3 separate regions of the Homo sapiens genome follow, and all the other regions are linked to region 2. Evidence: promoter capture Hi-C in human tissues and cell types (Jung and others, 2019). All regions are on one chromosome and are shown on one strand. Each heading gives the region's core, a stretch centred on a gene start or on the middle of the fragment in contact. The rest is flanking DNA. Distances are from core to core; before and after follow the strand shown. Region 1 has its middle 36 kb from the start of SLC5A4. Region 2 holds the start of RFPL2 (ret finger protein like 2). Region 3 overlaps SLC5A1 (solute carrier family 5 member 1).

Region 1 (2,811 bases), core at 263-2,762, 86 kb after region 2:
AGAATGGACTAATGCACTGACATTCCTGTTCATATACCTGATTAGGTCATGCTGATTCTGTCTTATTGTCTTTTAATTGGTATTTTTGCATCTAGGCTGATGAGTGAGACTTACTTTGTCAGGTTTTAGTATCAGGGTAATTCTAGTCTCAAAAATGAATTGAGGCCATTTTATGCTCTTTAATATTCATTTTCTATTGCTTTTCTATTCTCTGGAAGAGCTTGTGTATGATTGGCGTGGTTTCTAGAAGAGCTTATGATTGGCATGATCTCTTCCTTAAATGTTTGGTTGAATTTGTAGGGCCTGGGTTTTTCTTTTTTTCTTTTTACTTTTATTTTACTTTAAGTTCTGGGATGCATGTACAGAATGTGCAGGTTTGTGACATAAGTACACATGTGCCGTGGTGGTTTGCTGCACCTATCAACCCGTCATCTAGGTTTTAAGCCCTGCATGCATTAGGTGTTTGTCCTAATGCTCTCCCTCCCCTTGCCCCCATCCCCTGACAGGCCCCGGTGTGTGATGTTCCCCTCCCTGTGTCCATGTGTTCTCACTGTTCAACTCCCATTTATGAGGACATGTGGTGTTTTCTCTTCCTGTGTTAGTTTGTTTGCTGAGAACGATGGTTTCCAGCTTCATCCTTGTCCCTGGGGTTTTCTTAGTGGGAAAGATTTGGTTATGGATTCAATTGATTTTATTACTACAGGACTCTTTAAATTTCTATTTTTCTAATATCAGCTTTGAAAACTTGTACTTTTTATTTTATATTTTCAAATGCTTTGGATATGATTTTTTCATAACAATTTCCTTTTTAGTCCTTTTGGGTTGCTGTGACAAAATACCTCAGACTCGGTAACTTACAAACAATAGAAATTTATTTCTCACAGTTCTGAATACTGGGAAGTCCAAGATCAGGGAACTGGCAGATGTGGGGTGTGCAGAAGACTCGCTCTCTGCCTCCAAGATCGCAGCTTGTTGCTGTGTCCTCTGAGGATGAATGCTGTGTCTTCACATGATAGAAGAGATGGAAAGGCAAAAAGGCCCAGAAAGTCCCCTCCAGCCCTTTTATAATGTCACTAATCCCATTCATGAGGGTTCCATCCTCAGGACTTAATCGCTTCCTAAGGGCCCCAACTCTTAATACTATCACATTGGGTCTTAGGTTTCAAAATATTAATTTTGGGGGAAAACATACATTTGAACCATTTCAGCCTCTTTTTTATGCTTGCTGGATGTGTAGTGGTGTCTTCTTTTTAATTTCTGATATTGGAATTTGTCTTCTTTCATTTTCATCATATGAGTTTTGCCAGGGATTTATCAATTTTATTTTTTTAAAGAGCTAGCATTTGGCTTTGCTGATCCTCTCTGTGTTATGTTTATTTTCTTTTTCTTTAGTTGTGTATTTATCTTCATTGTTCTCTTTTTATATACTTTGTGTTTGACTGTTCTTTTTTTTTTTTTTTGAGATGGAGTCTTTCTCTGTTACCCAGGCTGCCACCCTCCGCCTCCCGGGTTCAAGCGATTCTCTTGCCTCAGCCTCCCGAGTAGCTGGGATTACAGGCGTGCGCCACCATGCCTGGCCAATTTTTTGTATTTTTATAGTAGAGACGGGGTTTCACCGTATTGGTCAGGCTGGTCTTGAACTCCTGACCTCGTGATCCACCCACCTTGGCCTCCCAAAGTGCTGGGATTACAGGCGTGAGGCACTGCGCCGGGGTCAACTGTTCTATTTTTAATTTGTGAGAAGTATGGCTGACATTAGTTTTCAGTCAAACTTGTGTATCAACTTGGGGAAAATTGACACATTTACTGTGTTGTCTTCCAACTCATGAACATGGTACGTCTCTTCATTAATTTAGATGTTCTTTGATTTCTTTACCAAGATAGGCTCTTAAGCTTGAATTTTCTTTTAAGCACTTATTTATCTGAATCACCTAAGTTTTAATATGTAACAATTCCCTTATACTCAAATGTATTCTACTTTTCATTATGATTTATTCCTTGACCTTAGCCTATTTATATTTCTTGTTTTCCCAATGTATGGAAATTTTTATATTTTATATATATGTGTGTGTGTATATATATGTATGTATATATATAATTTATTTTTCTTTTCTATCTTTTTTTTTTTGGAGATGGAGTCTCATTCTGTCACTCAGGCTGGAGTGCAATGGCACAATCTTGGCTCACTGCAACCTTTGCCTCCCGGGTTCAAGTGATTCTCGTGCCTCAGTCTCCTGAGAAGCTGAGATTACAGGTGTGCACCACTACGCCCGGCTATTTTTTTATATTTTTAGTAGAGACGGGGTTTTAGTATATATATATAACATATATACTAGATATTATATATAATATATAATACATATACTAGATATTATATATTATATTCTATATATTATATATATAATATATACTAGATATTATATATAATACATACTAGATATTATATAATATATATATTATATTCTATATATTATATATATAATATATACTAGATATTATATATAATACATACTAGATATTATATATAATATATACTAGATATTATATATATTTTTCTAATATATATGGTATATGGAACTATAGGAATTTTCTAATCTGTACACACATATTTTCTAATATGTACATACTAGATATATATTTGTTTTTTTCTAGTGTATGTGTGTGTGTGTATATGCTAGAAAATCCCCATATGTTTGGAAAACAGCATTCATCCCCAGAGAACACAGCAACAGGGTGCTATCTTAGAGGCAGAGAGTGAGTCTTCCCCAGACCCCACATCTGCCAGTGCCTTGATCTTGGACTTCCCAGACT
Region 2 (2,700 bases), core at 65-2,564:
TCCTTGCCCCTCAGCGACCAGTGCAGCCATGGATAGCGCCCTCAACAAGCCCCTCCACTGACCCCCGCCGCTGTGGGAAATGACGCCCGGGATAACGCACCCAACCCTCCCCCGCCATGAGCAATGCAACACGCACTACTGCTCCTTACACGCCCCCCACTACATGCGGTGTAGCCAACGATGGCGCCCCCATCTCCCCCTCGCCTCGGGCAGTGTAGCTCCCGATAGTGCATCCAACCCATTCCCTCTGCCCCTCTCCTCCCACCGAGTCAACCACCGCCGGCAGTCCAACCCCAAATAGCGCACCCAATCCACTCCCTGCCAGGCAGTGAAGCCCCCCGATAGCACCCAACCCGCACCCCCACCCCCGCCACTGGCAGTCCGCCCCGATAACGCCCCAACACGCTCCTGGCTGTAGGCAGTGTAGCCCATAGATAGAGCCCCCAACCAGCCCCCAGCCAAGGGCAGTGACGCCTCGGATATCACAGCCAACAAGTTCCCTGCCATGCGCACTGATGTCCCAGATAGCGCCCCCAACCCGTACCCCAGCGCGACCAGTGCAGCCACGGATAGCGCCCCCAGCAAGCCACCCCGCGGCTGCGGGAAATGACGTCCGGTAAAGCACCCAACCTTCCCGTGCTGTAGGCAGTGCAGCACCCAATACTGCCCCTAACACGCCTCCCACCACCGGGTTGTAGCCCACGATGGCGCCCTCAATCCGCCCCCGCTCCCACCTCGGGCAGTGCAGCTCCAGATCGTGCATCCAACCTGTCCCCCTCCCCGCCCCCTGCCGCAGGCAGTGAGCCCTGGATAGCTCATCCACCCCGCCACCTTTCTACATTCTGGCTGCGGTCTAGTCTCCCTCACCGCCACCAACGGCAGCGAGCCGAGCCATGCTGCTGCAGGCTTTCAAGCCTCCAGCGTGGGACAGGTGACTCCTCCTCTAACCTGGGCATGGAGCAGATGGGCTGGCAGACGCAGAAGTGCCTGGAATGGCAAGAACCCCTCCCCCCACAGACCGAGGTTATGCAAGTAAGGTTTCTGGACTACATGTTCAGATTGGATGAGAGAAAAACCTCTAGGTCTACTCTGATTGTGCTTTATTTTCACGTTCTGACTGGATGACAGCAAGTCTTAGGATAACCAATCAGAACAAGATAACAAAGCCCGATCAGAGTAGGCCTAGAGGTTTCTCTCATCCGATCAGACTATGTAGTCGAGAAACTTCATTTGCATTAAACTCAGTATATAAAGGATGCCAAGAGGGGTGGCTTGCCCTTCCAGGCTCATCTGCGTCGGCCTGCGTAGCTGCTCTGTGCCCGGCTTAGAGGAGAAGGAGGAGGAGCCACTTGCCGCGCATGCCAGAGGCTAGAGTCATCTACCGCGCATGCTGGAGGCTGGAGCCTACAGTGGCTCACCTCGCTGCTGCGGTTGGTGGCCGCGAGGGTGACTACAGCGCAGCCAGAATGGTGAAAAGGTGGCAGAATAGGTTCGTTATCCCAGGCCGTACTGCCTGTGGCGTGGGGGGCGGGTTGGGGGCCCTATCCAGGGCGTCACTGCCCGTGTTGGGGGGCTGCTTGAGTGTGGTACCTCGGGCGTCACTGCCCGCTGAGGGGAGTGGGGTGGGGGCGCTATCCGGGGGCGCTATCCAGCCTATGGCTGGAGATGGGTTGGGGCGCTATCCGAAGCTGTAATTCCTGCGGCAGTGGGGAGTTTTGGGGGCACTATCTGGGGATGCACTGCCCGCGGCCGGGGGGCGGGGGTGAGTTAGTAGAACTATCAGGTGCTGCAATGCCCTGATGCCCTTGTTGGGGACAGGTTGTGGGGGGCTGGTGGGTGCAACACTGCTGGTGGCGAGGGTGGGTGCTGCTATCCGGTGCTACTCTGCCTGTGGGGGACGGGGGCGGGCGTGATATCCAGGGCATCATTGCCTGCATCTGGGAGCTGGTTGGGGACACTATCCATGGCTGCACTGCCCACAGTGGGGAGCGGGTTGGGGGCACTATTTGGGGCTGCAATGCTGGTGGTGGGGGACGGGTTAGGGTCACTATAGGGTGCTACACTGCTGGCAGTGGGGAGGGGGTTGTTGAGGGCGCTCTCTGGGGGCTACACTGAGACAGGTAGCGGGGGGTTGTTGGGATTGGTACCGGGGCTGGACTGCCCATGGAGAGGGGGTGGGGGCGTTGGTTGGGGGCGCTATTGAGGGCCGGGTACACTGCCTGCGGTGGAGGGGTGGGTTGGGTGCTATCAGGGGTCTGTACTGCCTAGCAGGGAGCGGGTGGGTGTGCTATCTGGGGCTGCACTGGCTGCAGCAGGGGCAGGTTGGGTGCACTATAGGGGGCTACACTGCCCTTGGCAGGGGGTGGTTTAGGTGAGCTGTCTGTGGCCGCACTGCCCGAGGTGGGGAGTAAGTTTGGGTGCTATCTGTGGCTGCACTGCCTGGAGGCAGGAAGTGGGTTGAGGGTGCTATCCTGGGCTGCTTCTCCTGGTGGGGAGCAGGTAGGGGCACTATCCAGGGTTGCACTGCCCGGGGTAGGGGGCGATTTGGGTGCCATATCGGGGCATCACTGCCCACGGCAGGGGTCTGGTTGGGGTCGCTACCCATGGCTACACTGTCTACAGCCACTGCCTACGGCAGGGAGCGGGTTGGGGGCGCTATCCCGGGCTGCGCTGCCCAAGGCAGGGGGTGGGTTGCGGGTG
Region 3 (2,800 bases), core at 113-2,612, 130 kb before region 2:
TTCATGTCCCCATTTGTGTTTCCTAGGGCTGTTATCACAGATCACAGCTACAGTAAATGTTTACAGCAATTCTGCTGTCCATTTTGGATCCTTGGGTGAAAAGAAGAGCTTTTGCTTTTGCTTAAGATTTGAATGCTCATTCCCAGGGCCACTCACTTTCACAAGTGGAAAGAGAAATTTGAGTAATGGGGCTTCACCATCTGAAACTGCGAGGCTAGGCAGGATTTATCGAATGCTCAAATACATCTTGGTTACGACCAGAATGGACAGCAAACACACACATATAAAATCACTGGATCTCAAAACATCAGAGCCAAGGCGAAGCAACATGCCCAAGCTCCCAATCAGAGACTCAGTTACTTGCAGATGCTTTCCAACGGGGGTCTGTATTTTTATTCCCCATGAATTCCATGGACATCGTTCAGCCAAATTTTCAACGTGATGGGAACAACACCCCTGGGCTAAATCCAACACACGATCTATTTTTGTAAGTAAAGTTTTACTGGAGCCCAGCCAAGCCCATTGTTTGTGTTGTCTGTGGCTGCTTTTATGCTTTAACAACAGAGTGTGACAGAGACAGTAAATGCAAAGCATAAAACATTTACTCCCGGGCCCTTTACAGAGAAAGTTTGCAAATTCTTGATCTAGAGGACCATAATTTTTTATTTCACTTCAAGTTGGTTTTGCTTAGCAGCATTGGAGAAATTTTCTTCTTTCCCTTCTGCCTCCCCTTTCCCTCTTTCCTTCCTTCTTTCCTTCCTTCCTTCCCTCCCTCCCTTCCTTCACTCCCTCCTTCTCTCCTTTCTTTCTCTCTCCCTCTGTTACCTTCCCTTTCTTTCCTTCCTTCCCTCCCCCTTCCTCTCTCCCCCTTTTTTCACTTTCTTCCTTTCCCCTTCTTCCTTCCTTTCGTTCTCTCTTTCCTTCTCTCCCTTCCCTTTCCTTTCCCTCCCTCCATCCTTCCCCCTACTCTCTTTTAAGGGCTAACATTAATTTAGGGAAAGAGCAATCTGGGATAAGCTGTGAAACAAATGGTCTCATAGGATGACAGGACAGTTCTTTTATATCAAAGCTGGTGCTGCATTCCCTATACAGTCCCCTATTTTTATGATAAAAAATTTAATGAAATACTTCAAATATACAGGAATGCAGAAAGAATATAGCAAACACCCTTATATTCACCACTCAGATTTTATAGATCTTAACAATATATTATTTGTAGAAAAGAAATAAAACATTACAGATATAGCCGAAGACCTATTTATACCCTTTTCTTGGTCTCATTTTCCTCTTTCCTAAAAGGTGAATGCTGTCTTGAACTTGGTGTGGATTCTTCTAGACTATGTTTTTATATTTTTACTACATATATATATGGGTACCCGTATAGCCATAAAGAATATATTCTGTTTTAAAATTTCTGCTTCCTGCACTTTTGAAACTGTAGGAAAAATGTAACATTGGCATTTAAAAATCTTGGGGTGGGAGATGCACACTTTAACTCCAATACCAATATTTTCATATTTTGGCCTTGCTCAAATTGTGTGTATTCTTTCACAAAGTTGCAATTAGAATATGCGCATCATTTTGTTGTCTTCTCCCCACCCCTACCATCAAATTGTAAATGTTCCAGTTTCAGTTTTCATAATTATTATTTTTAGGGGCTGCAGAACATAACTGTTGACATATAATTTTTAGAAAGCCATTTAAAAATCCTCTGGTGGACAAAAATCTCTTGACAGTGGTCACTTCTGGGCTACTTTTACTTTTCAGTGTGTAACTTCTGCGGTTATTTATTTATTCAATTTTTATTTGTTTTTCTTTTTTTTTGAGCAAAACTCTATCACCCAGGCTGGAGTACAGTGGCACAATCTCGGCTCACTGCAACCTCTGCCTCCCAGGTTCAAGCAATTCTCCTGCCTCGGCCTCCCAGTTAGCTGAGATTACAGGCATGCGCCACCACACCTGGCTAATTTTTGTATTTTTAGTAGAGACAGGGTTTTACCATGTTGGCCAGGCTGGTGTCTCAAACTCCTGACCTCAAGTGATCTGCTTGCCTCAGCCTCCCAAAGTGCTGGGATTACAGGCATAAGCCACTGTGCCTGGCCTGTGGTGTTTATTTTAACCCCCCACACATACATTATTTTATTTGAGATTTTATTTTAAAAGTAAATTAAAAACTTTTTCTTTGTTGCTAAAAAAGACCTTGCTGGCTGAGCATGGTGGCTCAGGCCTGTAATCCCAGTAGTTTGGGAGGCTGAGGTGGGTGGATCACAAGATCAGGAGATTGAGACCATTCTGGCCAACAGGGTGAAACCCTGTCTCTACTAAAATACAAAAAAAATTAGCCAGGCATGGTGGCACGCAACTGTAGTCCTAGCTACTCAGGAGGCTGAGGCAGGGGAATCACTTGAACCTGGGAGATGGAGGTTGCAGTGAGCCGAGATTGTGCCACTGCACTCCAGCCTGGCGAAAGAGCAAGACTCTGTCTCCAAAAAAAAAAAAAAAAAAAAAAAAAAAAAAGACCTTGCTCTCTGTAGAAAATATTCCAGAAAGCAGAAAGGAGGTCCCTTACTTTTCAATGTTGTTTTGAGGATCAAAATAACGCATGTGCCTAAATGTCCTTGGTAAACTGTAAAACTCTCTGAACATGAAGAAAAGAAAACAAACAAACAAACAAACAAAAAAAAACAACCCTAGTGGGTTTGTTTGGCAGCTAGGAAGGACCAAAGACTAATGTCAGAGCACCCAGACTAGAGTGGCCTTGCTCAGCTGGAGTCAGCTACATAAGCTTAGCTAAGGTATT

What was found. The method cuts DNA at HindIII sites, captures the fragments that hold promoters and counts their contacts. A contact is called where the count stands out against the background at its distance.
Region 1: a fragment that was not itself captured here is called in contact with the fragment with the promoter of RFPL2 in region 2 in 9 of the 25 tissues and cell types used here (IMR-90 fibroblasts, aorta, bladder and 6 more).
Region 3: a contact is called between a fragment that was not itself captured here and the fragment with the promoter of RFPL2 in region 2, in 2 of the 25 tissues and cell types used here (IMR-90 fibroblasts and spleen).

What each region holds. Positions count from the first base shown.
Region 1 is chr22:32,289,762-32,292,572 of GRCh38, forward strand. It overlaps a transcript of SLC5A4 not described here. Among named protein-coding and RNA genes, the nearest start is that of SLC5A4, 36 kb to the left of the region's middle. The HindIII fragment of the contact is 6,132 bases long and covers 1-2,811 here.
Region 2 is chr22:32,203,759-32,206,458 of GRCh38, forward strand. It overlaps RFPL2 (ret finger protein like 2), which reads right to left and starts at 1,315. Exons shown (of 5, transcript NM_001394555.1): 1 at 949-1,315. SLC5A4-AS1 (SLC5A4 antisense RNA 1) reads left to right here and starts at 1,357. Exons shown (of 4, transcript NR_149072.1): 1 at 1,357-1,489. The HindIII fragment of the contact is 14,140 bases long and covers 1-2,700 here.
Region 3 is chr22:32,076,468-32,079,267 of GRCh38, forward strand. All of the region lies in intron 5 of SLC5A1 (solute carrier family 5 member 1), which reads left to right. Among named protein-coding and RNA genes, the nearest start is that of SLC5A1, 35 kb to the left of the region's middle. The HindIII fragment of the contact is 5,368 bases long and covers 1-2,800 here.